Regions from separate parts of the Homo sapiens genome. Here all the other regions are linked to region 1. Evidence: promoter capture Hi-C in 16 types of primary human blood cells and fetal thymus (Javierre and others, 2016). All regions are on one chromosome and are shown on one strand. Each heading gives the region's core, a stretch centred on a gene start or on the middle of the fragment in contact. The rest is flanking DNA. Distances are from core to core; before and after follow the strand shown.

Evidence for each region. Contacts are between HindIII fragments. The CHiCAGO score rates a contact against its expected background, and 5 or more counts as called.
Region 2: a contact is called between a fragment that was not itself captured here and the fragment with the promoter of YIPF5 in region 1, in 6 of 17 cell types (naive CD8 T cells, naive CD4 T cells, total CD4 T cells and 3 more). The highest score is 9.2, in naive CD8 T cells.
Region 3: a fragment that was not itself captured here is called in contact with the fragment with the promoter of YIPF5 in region 1 in 2 of 17 cell types (naive CD4 T cells and fetal thymus); the score reaches 7.0 in naive CD4 T cells.

The regions. Positions count from the first base shown.
Region 1 is chr5:144,168,697-144,172,217 of GRCh38, forward strand. It overlaps YIPF5 (Yip1 domain family member 5), which reads right to left and starts at 1,963. Exons shown (of 6, transcript NM_030799.9): 1 at 1,839-1,963; 2 at 1,150-1,269. The coding sequence starts at 1,259. It overlaps KCTD16 (potassium channel tetramerization domain containing 16), which reads left to right and starts at 2,177. Exons shown (of 4, transcript NM_020768.4): 1 at 2,177-2,313. RefSeq lists an enhancer at 1,825-2,104. The HindIII fragment of the contact is 8,610 bases long and covers 1-3,521 here.
Region 2 is chr5:142,998,715-143,002,235 of GRCh38, forward strand. The region is part of intron 11 of ARHGAP26 (Rho GTPase activating protein 26); the gene reads left to right. Among named protein-coding and RNA genes, the nearest start is that of ARHGAP26-AS1, 130 kb to the left of the region's middle. The HindIII fragment of the contact is 4,886 bases long and covers 1-3,521 here.
Region 3 is chr5:143,018,541-143,022,061 of GRCh38, forward strand. The region is part of intron 12 of ARHGAP26 (Rho GTPase activating protein 26); the gene reads left to right. Among named protein-coding and RNA genes, the nearest start is that of ARHGAP26-AS1, 150 kb to the left of the region's middle. RefSeq lists enhancers at 1,006-1,055, 1,476-1,685, 3,366-3,455. The HindIII fragment of the contact is 2,362 bases long and covers 727-3,088 here.

The DNA.
Region 1 (3,521 bases), core at 713-3,212:
CTTAAAATATACCAAATTAAGCAGACTCAAAGAGACTATATGTTTTAGAAAGGATAGCCTAACCAAGACAGACACTATTACAGAGCCACAGTGAATTTGAATTTTGTTTTGTTTTTTAAATTCTTGGGCACTCTAATCCAAACACATTCCTGTATTGCATGTTTCTCACAAACTGACAGATACATAACCTTCCCCTGCCCTCATCGTGGAACAGTCTTTATGAGGTTTCAAATTCGGGATCCATGATGAACATCATTTAACACATGAATTGTCTGAAGTTATATATGCACATTTATTTGGGTGTTTGAGTGAATGCATGTATTTATGGGAAAGAGGCCCAGTTGTAATAGGATTCTCAAAGAGATCCAGAACCATCTAAAAAAGTTTAAGCAATCCTAGTATAGGAAGCTCCTTTATTTGACAGGAAGCTGATAAGATTATCTCTAGGGTCCTAAGAAACTAAGGAGATGATGTTTTAGGTGAGATTGCTAGAAAGCCTTCAGTTCATGTATTTTTGTCACAAACACCAGGTACTATAAAAAGATCATTTAAAAAAAAATGTTCAGAGGCTAACGGCTTTGAGTCAACCTCCTCAGTATGCAACTTATAACACGTGTGGCACTGACCATAAGGGTTTGAGAAGGAGGAGTAATAAAAATGATTATCAACTGCTGTATGAAAATCGCCTGATGATTCGTAATAAGGAGCTTACATCATTAAATAATGTCACTAAGCACTTTCAATTAGCACTGATAAAAGTCTCAGAGTTGGACTGATTTAACTACTAACAAAATACTTTAATTTTTCACTGGTCCTATGAACTAACAGCCTATCTCCTAGGTACCTGAAGCTCCCATCATCTTCTAAATACAGAAATACTGTTACTAGAAAACAGTTCTTCAAACAAGCTACTTTTCCATTCATGGTACACCTGAAGAGTTTGCAGAAGACACTCAACTCTTAAATAGAACAATACCTTCGAAGCCAAGCCAGTGTCACATATCTCTCTAGAGGAAGAAGATTATGCATGAAAGATCATACTCCTGATAAAGGACATGTTCACATATTGTTTTAGGCAGAACCAAATATTCTAAATATGTGTTTTCACTGCAATGTAGACTAAATTAATTGCCAAAGATGAAAAGTTACTTGCTATAGGGTCCTCCACTTCCTCCATAATCATAGGACTGCTGTGACTGATCATCGATGCTGTAACTTGTCTGGTAGAAATCCGTGTTTAAGTTTTCAAAGCCTGACATTGCAAATAATCTGTAATAAAAGAGAAATGGCAAATATTCCTTATGCCCAAGGTTCTACTGAATTCGTTCCTGGCAGTCTGCTTAAGCAAATAGAAACACAACAAATATTTTTTCAGTAATTCGGAGAGGGGATGGGGGCGGAAAGTACGCAGCATTTGAACGACGGTAGCGGAGAGAGAGTAAGAAAATGTATATTCTTTTAAGTTGCGGCCCAGTAAGACAACTCCACCTTAAAGAGCTGATATGCCTTCCATTAGGGGCGAGGTCGTGGGAGTTGTGGTTCCATAAGCGGTCTAAAATATCAATAACAACAAAGATGATTTTTCACCTTAGGACTGGGCTTTACAGCTGACAAGGCGACTGCTTCCTTGCAAAATAAGGCCTGCGGCCTGCCAGGAAAAAGTGCAGAATCTGGAAGGTCGCGCCTGAGGTGCAGGGGACCGCGTCAGGGCAAGGGCTTGAATGAGAGCGAGGGTCTGAGCGAAAGGACCAGGGCGCGGCGCCGAAAGACGGCAACAAGCCCATTTGCACGGGTGTGGAGAGAAGCTGAACACTGTGCCACGGGCCTGGGTCACTCACCAAACTCTGAGGCTGCGCTGGCGGCAAAGGCAGTAGCTTCACTAATCCCAAACAACCCCCAAACTCTGTTTCAGACCCTGAACCAGCCCCGTTGCTACGTGTCACAGGGCCAAAGAACGGCTTCCGGGGCACGCCCGCTCGCGCAGGCGTGTTAGCAGGTTGGGCACCGGTGGGCGGGAGGAGGAGACACGAGTATGGAGCTTGCGCAGTATCTACCCAACCTGCGGCTGGCCCGTGCCAAAGAGGAAAGTGCTTCCGGCAGCCTGGTTAGGGGTGGAACCAGGAAAGCGCAGGCGTAGCAATTGCTGCTTACTCGTAGGTAGGAGGAGGAGTTTCTCAGACCTAGGTGATGGAGGAAGACTGGGAGGCGCTAAAATGAGACAGACGGAGTCCCCTCTCCTGTCCACAAACTACAATGCCTACAATGCCTCGGTGTCAGCATTTACTGTGATTCAAGCACTGTGCTAAAGTGTTTGTATGTATTATTTAATCTTTACAACCTAATGAGATGGTTACCCTATTTCCCTTTTGTAAGTGAAGCTATTAAGTATTCATTCATTCTGTGCTAGCTGCTGGGGATACTGTGGTAAATATAAGCTAGGTGACATCTACCCACCTGGAGTTGGTGGTGGAGAGGGGTAATCGAACACATACAAATGCATGTGAAATTGCTACTAATATTCTTTAGTGTTCCATAATTCTTTGAAAGAGTAACATTCATCTGGGAAGAAGAGTCTGTAAAGCCACTATAAGAGGGTTATCAAAGGGTGAGTGGGAGTTAGAGAAGACCAGAAAAGAGAAGAAAGGGCAACGGGAAAGGAGGATAAGGGAAAATAGCCTGAATATTTTAGGCAAAGAGAACAATGTGTGCAAGATCTGGGAAGCATGGTCTGAGGAAAGATGAAAATCGAGCTCTGAACTTCAGCATTATTAACATTTTGAGTCAGGATGTTTCTTTATTGGGGGCTGCCCTGTGCATGATGCTTAGCAGTAGCATCCCTAATCTCTAGCCATTAGATGCCAGTACTCCCCCCAACCAACCACCACCACCATCACCACCAAGTTGTGACAGCTAAAAATCTCTCCAGACATTGCCAAATCCAAATGTCCTTGGGGGCGGTGGGGGCAACATTAGCTGAATTTGTCAACCACTCTTCTAAGTGGAACCTGAGTGACTGGAACAGCAAGTGAGGGGAGCCACATAGGAGTTGAGGCTGGAATAACAGGAAGGGGCCAGGAAATATCCTGTGGGATTTGTGTGTTGGTTCTAAAAGAAGTGAAGATTGTGAACTGATGAGTGATGTTTAAATTGTTTTCTTTTGAAAATGATTGCTTTGGCTCCTGTGTTAAATCACTTTCCCAAGATGGTGGAATCCCGAATATTGTGACTCGAAATAAGATGCTATTAACTAATGAGCAGAACTTTCTTCAGGGTTTATAGCAATAAAATTTATCATGAGCCACTGCATTATATTCTGGGATCAAAATCCTGAGGCCCTCACAAAAGAAGCCAGACCATTGTTGGGGACTAGTTTCCAAAGGAACAATAAAATTTCACTTAAAACTTTTCTCTCAACACCCCCCACCCCAATAAAACAAACAGAAAACGCACTCCCCTCCAAACAAAAATAGCAACAACAAAAGGATGTAAGACCCAACCAAAAAACCTAGGATTGTACTCTA
Region 2 (3,521 bases), core at 517-3,016, 1.2 Mb before region 1:
CCCTGTTTCCCCACCCCCTAAAAAAAGAACAAAAAAAAAGAAAAAGGAAAAGAACATTTGTTTACAGTATGAGAACTGAAACAAGAAGGCAGAATATGGCCTGTGCAACACGAGACGGTGAGCTAGTCTGATCAGCAGCTTTCCAACCTGCTGTCCCTTTCCTTTCCAGTTCCTACTCCCTCCAACATTTGCAGGACCTTATTCCTAGTCAACTGTCAGCAGATCCCAATTTTGCTGTTTGCTGGTAAGATTTGAGATGTTACCATCCTAATGTATATATGAAATTATTAAAGTGCATAGAGAGCCCTTCAGGACCTAAAGGGGTTCATTCATGATGGTGAAATATTAAAAATTATAGGGACTAAGAGTATGGCATTTCAAAGCTGGTTTGTTTCAGGCCCCCCTTTTGATGCCTTAGGAAATTAAGATACAGAGAGACGAAGAGGTTTGATCCGGGTCCCACAGTAAGGCAGTGACTGATTAGGGCCACTATACTTGTTAGCTCCCAGGGCTCCCTGCCCATTCAAATCATAGCTTATAGATGGCCATGTAGTTAGGTGAGTCCCCTGAAAATTAGCCTCGAGCATATAGATCTTTACAATGCTCAGCACACTTACCTGCTTGTCCTTTTAGCTGAGGGGGTAGGAGGCAGATCTCAGTTTTATTAATATAGTGAGGGTTCCCAAAGGATATATGAATCAATTTTATAATATGAGAACTGTTTTGGGGGAAGGAGAAAGAGGAGAGTGAGGCGGGTTAAGGCTACTTTTTCCTAAATTTGTATTTAAAACCAGTGAGTTTCAAATCTAGGTTATGACTCAGAAGCACCTCTAAATAATGTTTATAAACTAGGCTAACTAGGGGGATTAATTCAAGGTGAATTTTTCTTTCTGGCTGCTGTGGGGGTTAAAAAAATATCAAGGTAGGTTATAAACATAAAATCTAAAACTATAAAGCCTTCAGAAGAAAACATAGGACAAAATCTATGCGATCTGGGATTGGCAAAAGTTATGTAATAGGACATAGAAAGTGATAGCCCTACAAAAACATGAAAAAAAATTGACTTGATTTAAATTAAAAGCTAGTGCTTATCAAAAGACACCATTAAGAAATCAACTGGCAAGCTGTAGAATAAGAGGACATATTCGCAAACCATATATCTGACAAAGGACATATCCAGAATGTATAGAGAACCCATAAAACTCAGTAATAAAAAGAAGAACCTAACTAAAAGACAGAAAAAAGACTTGAAGAAACGCCGGACAAAAGATGGCCCAATACATACATGAAAAAGTATACATCATGGATCATCAGAAAAATGCAGTTTGAGACTATAATAAGATACTGCTACGCATACCCATTAGAACAGCTAAAAGTAGAAGATTGACAACACAATGAAAAGATTGGCAAGTGCTGGTGAGGATGTGAAGCAACCCAAACTCTCATACATTATTGGTGGGGGTGTAAGTAAAATGGCACAACTACTGTCGACAAAGGCTTGGAAGTTTTCTGTTTAATAACAAAAAACTCTACTGTAGAATCCAGCAGTTCCACTCCTAGGTATTTACCTAAGAGAAGTGAAAACACATGTCTTCAAAAAGATTTGTACAAAAACCTTTGGACCAGCTTTATGATAGCTACAGACAGGGAACCACCTAGGTGTCCATCAACAGAGGAATTGATAAAACTATGGTATATTCAAACATTAAATTTCAACTCAGAAGTAAAAAGGACTAAAGGTATTGGTTCACACCACAACATGGATGAATATTAAAAATTTTATGCTGAGTGCAATCCCATTACTGGGTATATACCAAAAGGATTATAAATCATATAAATCATTCTATAAAGACACATGTACACGTATGTTTATTGCAGCACTATTTACAATAGCAAAGACTTGGAACCAATTCAAATGCTCATCAATGATAGGCTGGATAAAGAAAATGGGGCACATATACACCATGGAATACTATGCAGCCATAAAAAAGAATGAGGTCATGTCCTTTGCAGGGACATGGATAAAGCTGGAAGCCATCATTCTCAGCAGACTAACATAGGAACAAAAAACCAAATACTACATGTTCTCACTCATAAGTGGGAGTTGAACAGTGAGAACACATGGACACAGGGAGGGGAACATCACACACCAGGGCCTGTTGGGGGATGGGAGGCAAGGGGAGGGAGAGCATTAGGACAAATACCTAATGCATGCAGGGCTTAAAATCTAGATGATGGGTGGATAGGTGCAGCAAACTAACATGGCACATGTATACCTATGTAACAAACCTGCATGTTCTGCACATGTATCCCAGAACTTAAAAAAAAAAATTTATGCTGAGTGAAACAGAGTAGCTATAAAAGAATATATATGATGTAAGTCTGTTTGTATAGTGATCTAGAATAAGCAAAACTAATTGGGGGTGCAAAACAGAACAGTGGTTGCCAGTGCATGGGGTGTGTGAGGGGTGGGAGTAAGATGGAAGGAGGTCTGAGGGAACTATCTGAGCTGATGTTTCTATCTTGATAGAGGTTTAGCTTACATGGGTATATGAAATTGTCACAATTCATGATTGGCATGCTTAAGAATTATGTATTTTATTGTATGTACATTTTACATTTAAAAATGGACAAATATTGAACTTTAGATGATATGTGTTCTGAAATGTTTAAAAGTGCTGATATCTGCAACTCCTCTTAAAATTTATTAAAAAGCAAGATGGACTGATGGATGATAGAAAGATGGCTAGATATGTGATAAGGCAAATATAGCAAAATATGAACAACTGTAGAATGGAGGTGATGGGTATATGCATGTTTACTGTCTCTTCTTTCATCTTTTCTGTATGTTTGAGAATTTTTATAAGGGTATGTGGATTGGGAGTAAATGTGCTGTTCTGGCTGGCCTAAGTCACACTATTCCTGGAGTCGGAAGTGGAGTGGATTCTGCCTGTGATGGAGGTGGGGGACCCACACAGAGTGCAGAATTCTAGAATCTACAGTTCCATTTTAGAAACCTCATTCTGCTCCTTGGGAGTTGTGGGAGAATACTGAGATTCTCCATGTGATCACAGTGCTGGGGATACCCTTTACTGCCAGCTCAAAGCAACAGAATAAAAGAGTGAATATTCTCAGAATCTCTTGTTGCATGCATACGAGTTGGCATCAAGATTATTTTTGGATTTGGGGTAGGAAACTCAGCTTCGAGTCATAGATCTAGAAATGCAGTCCTCTGAACTGACAGCTGTTTGTGGCAAGGGAAGAAGTCACCTTTCCCTGTGTCTGTGTTGGATAACATAACATTCACCTTCTGCCTCTCCAAGGGGCATTGTGGGGATGAAGGCGATCATGAACGTGCTTTGAGTTTGTCTGACTGCATCAGCCTCGAGTTGCAATGAAGACAGCTATGCATGCCACTGCCCGGAACCTCCTGGAAGAAGGGACTGGAGGTTGAAAGGAGCTGCATAGTGCTGTGACTCACTCTCTGCCCGTTGTTTCTCCTGGGCTGGGACCCACTTGGG
Region 3 (3,521 bases), core at 658-3,157, 1.2 Mb before region 1:
TCTTATTTTTATCCTTGGGAAGAGTTAGTTTTCCTATCAACATCTACTAAGCTATCCATTCTTCCCTCGATTGATTTGTAGTGCCAGTGTTCTTGCATTTTAGGTTTGCATATTTTAGTTCTGTCTCTGAGCCCTTTATTCAGGTTTTTTGTGTAGCTGTTTTTGTCCCAATACCTCTCTGTTTTTAATAATAACTTTGAGGCAACTCTTAATATCTAGTTATATAAGTCTCCTCTATTTATTCTCCCTTTTGAGGTTTGACTTGGGTATTTATGAGTCTTTATCCTTCTGTATAAATTCTATAATAAGTTTAAGAAGTTTCCCCTAAAATAAAATTTTTCTTTGCGAGTGCATTGAATCATACAGGTTATTTGGAGAAAGTTGACACCTTTGTAATATTAAGTCATGTCTTCCAAGGGTTTTGAATGTCTTTCCATTTATTCAGACCACCAGTGTTTTTTATTAGGATTTTATTTTTCTGCCTAGAGATCGTGTGTGCTCCTGGTCAAGTTAATCCCTAAATACTAAATTTAAAAACCAATATTTTATTTTGCCAGCCCTGCTACCCATGGGGACCCTTCCTGGATTTGCTTCTAGAATGTCAGGAATCTATATCAGTGACACCAGATTCTCTAATTTGTCAAACTCTTACCTAGTAGAGAAGGGAAGGGGAAAAAGGGAGTATTGGTAATAAAGAAGAAGAAAGTATGATATTGTTTCTTCTTAAGCTTTTTTTTTTGAGGAAGTGGTCACTGCCAGTGTCAGTCACCTAGTTATCTGATACTTGTCATTGATTCGTCCCTTTCATTATTACAAAGAACAAGACTTCCCTGGGCAAGAACCATTTCTCCCATCTCACCCGCTGCAGCCCCGTTTGCTGTATCTCTCGATGTCTTTTTGTCTTTTTGCTGTTCCCTACCTTTGGGTACAAGGTAGGGAATATCTTTAGGGAGTTATAAAATTTACTCCCCAAAGACTATGAGAATTGGTTCATTTTTCTTTGTAATGAGTCCAGGTTGGAAGCAGGATGAGAGGCCTGTTCTCAGCTCAGGCTGCTATTGTCCTGCCGTCCCACCTGAGGGAAGGTTAGAAAGCCGAGAACTTGTCAGAGAGAACACACCAGTCCAGTGCAAGGGAGTAAGAGAAGGGCAGGCTCTTACAGTGTGAGTTGGTCTTTTCCAAGTTTGATGTTTTAAATAACAAATGTCACTGCCTACTTAACTCTAAAAAGATTAGCTTGTTTACAAGAATGCTGCCCTCCCACTGTTTCTCCAGCTGCTTGAAGGCTGAAGTCTGACAGATTGAGGCAGAGAGGGCTCAGTCTCCTAATCTTGACTTTATAGTGCCACTTTCCTCAATGTGGGTATTAACTCAGATTCCATAGGTTAATCGGGTTATGTTGAAAGGAATATGCTGAAGTTGCTGCAGGCATGCCTTCTCATGCATGTCAGGACCTGGCTTAACACTGGCCATCTGGCTTTTCAGAATGCCATTTTGTAGTTCACTCCACTTCTCACTCTTGTTCAACATTTTCCTGTTACTCCCACCTGGATCTTGTGCCGGATGAAACTGCAGGAGTCCAGGCTTCCTGTAGCTCTTCCTTCAGTGAATGCCTCTAGAAGTTCTTGGACTCCTGGCCTCACGTGATCCTTCCATCTTGGCCTCCCAAAGTGCTGGGATTATAGGCATGAGCCACCACGCCCAGCCTTCTGGGAGTTCTTAAGGGCAGGTGGCACTGAGATATATGAGTACCGAGAGGTAAGGACACTCATAACTAGAACACACATCTGTCTCTACCTTTAAAGCTCATGTGATCTGCTGTGGAGGTTCAGACCACAGGGGAACAATAGACAGATGGCCCAATTACATCGTGTGGGTGTATGTCATATTCAAACCATCTACAGAAGTACCCAGGGTGCAGACTACATGCCCAGAGCTCATGGATTTGAGAGTGAGCTACACTTGAAAAATGGAAATTTCCTCCCTTCTCTCCTCCCCAGAAGAAGAAAAAATATAACACTTCCTCCTCTTTGCATCCAAGTCCTAGTCCTTTCTTTCCTTGTGGTTTGTTTTTAATCTAGTGCTCTAGTGCTTTTTTTTTTTTTTTTTTTTTTTTGAGATGGAGTCTTGCTCTGTTGCCCAGGCTGGAGTGCAGTGGCATGATCTCCGCTCACTGCAAGCTCCCCCTCCCGGGTTCACGCCATTCTCCTGCCTCAGCCTCCCAAGTAGCTGGGACTACAGGCACCCGCCCTCACGCCCGGCTAATTTTTTTGTAGTTTTTAGTAGAGACAGGGTTTCACCGTGTTAGCCAGGATGGTCTCGATCTGCTGACCTCATGATCCGCCCATCTCGGCCTCCCAAAGTGCTGGGATTACAGGCGTGAGCCACTGCACCTGGCCTAATCTAGTGCTTTTATAAGAATCCTTTATATTTGAATAAAAATGCTGAAGAACCCACTGCAGTTTGCCAATTTGTCATTCACACTGGGAGGTGGGGAGAAGAGCAGTGATTGAAGAAGGAAATATGAACTCATTGTAGAATATTACAGAAATACAGCAAAATGATTTTGAAACATTCAGTCAAAAATCATTGGTAATATTATTCCCAGAGATACTTCCTTCTTGCCTTTTTTAAATGATGTCTTGTATGTATTTTGTCAATGTCAGTATGAATTTTAATTTAACTGGCATTATGTTGAATATGCTTGTTGTATTCTGCTTTAAAAATTACAGACATTTTCTGATGTCATGAAATGTTTAGAAGTATCACCTGTCATGGTTGTTTAATATTCTGTCATTGGACTATATCTTAATTTGTTGAATCATTTATCATTGTTAGACTAATGCTCTTTCCAGGTTTTTGGTATTACAAATAACATTGGCCTATGTTATTCATAATAGCTTCAAAAGTTATTAATTTCATCAGTTATTGGCCTTGTACATCAGCCTTTGTACGTATCTCAGATCATTCTCTTTGGGTAGATTCCGCCACGTGGATTAGAGAGAGGGTTTGCATGGAGGAGTAATGTGTGGCTGGTGTAGAATAGCATCCTGGGTGTAGAACTTTGGACAGGTGGTGCGCCTCTCTAAGCTTCCATTTCCTCTTCTGTAAAATGGGGATAATAATACCCCTGCTTCATAAACTCATTGTAAGAATGAAAGTTCAGCACATTAGTATCTGCACATTAGTTGGTAAGTGCCTAATTACTCTTGGTTATTACTCTTATCATCTGGCCAGGCCAGTTACTCCCACAACAAAAGGAAAAACCCACTGGAAAGGAAAAGCCAGCTGGATTGGTAACACTGCTCTTGAAGGGAGGAAGACAACCTGCTACTGTTTCTCAGTCTTGGTGCTTTATGAGTGTTCATTCATTTAATCCTCGTTACTGTATTTCTCAAAGTGGGGTGTGCACACCACTGGTGGTACACTAGGTCATTTGAGAGAGTATATTTTAAATTACCATCTAGACTTCTGTATTTATTTTGATGTGTATTGTGGGGGAACATAAGTTCTCTGAAATC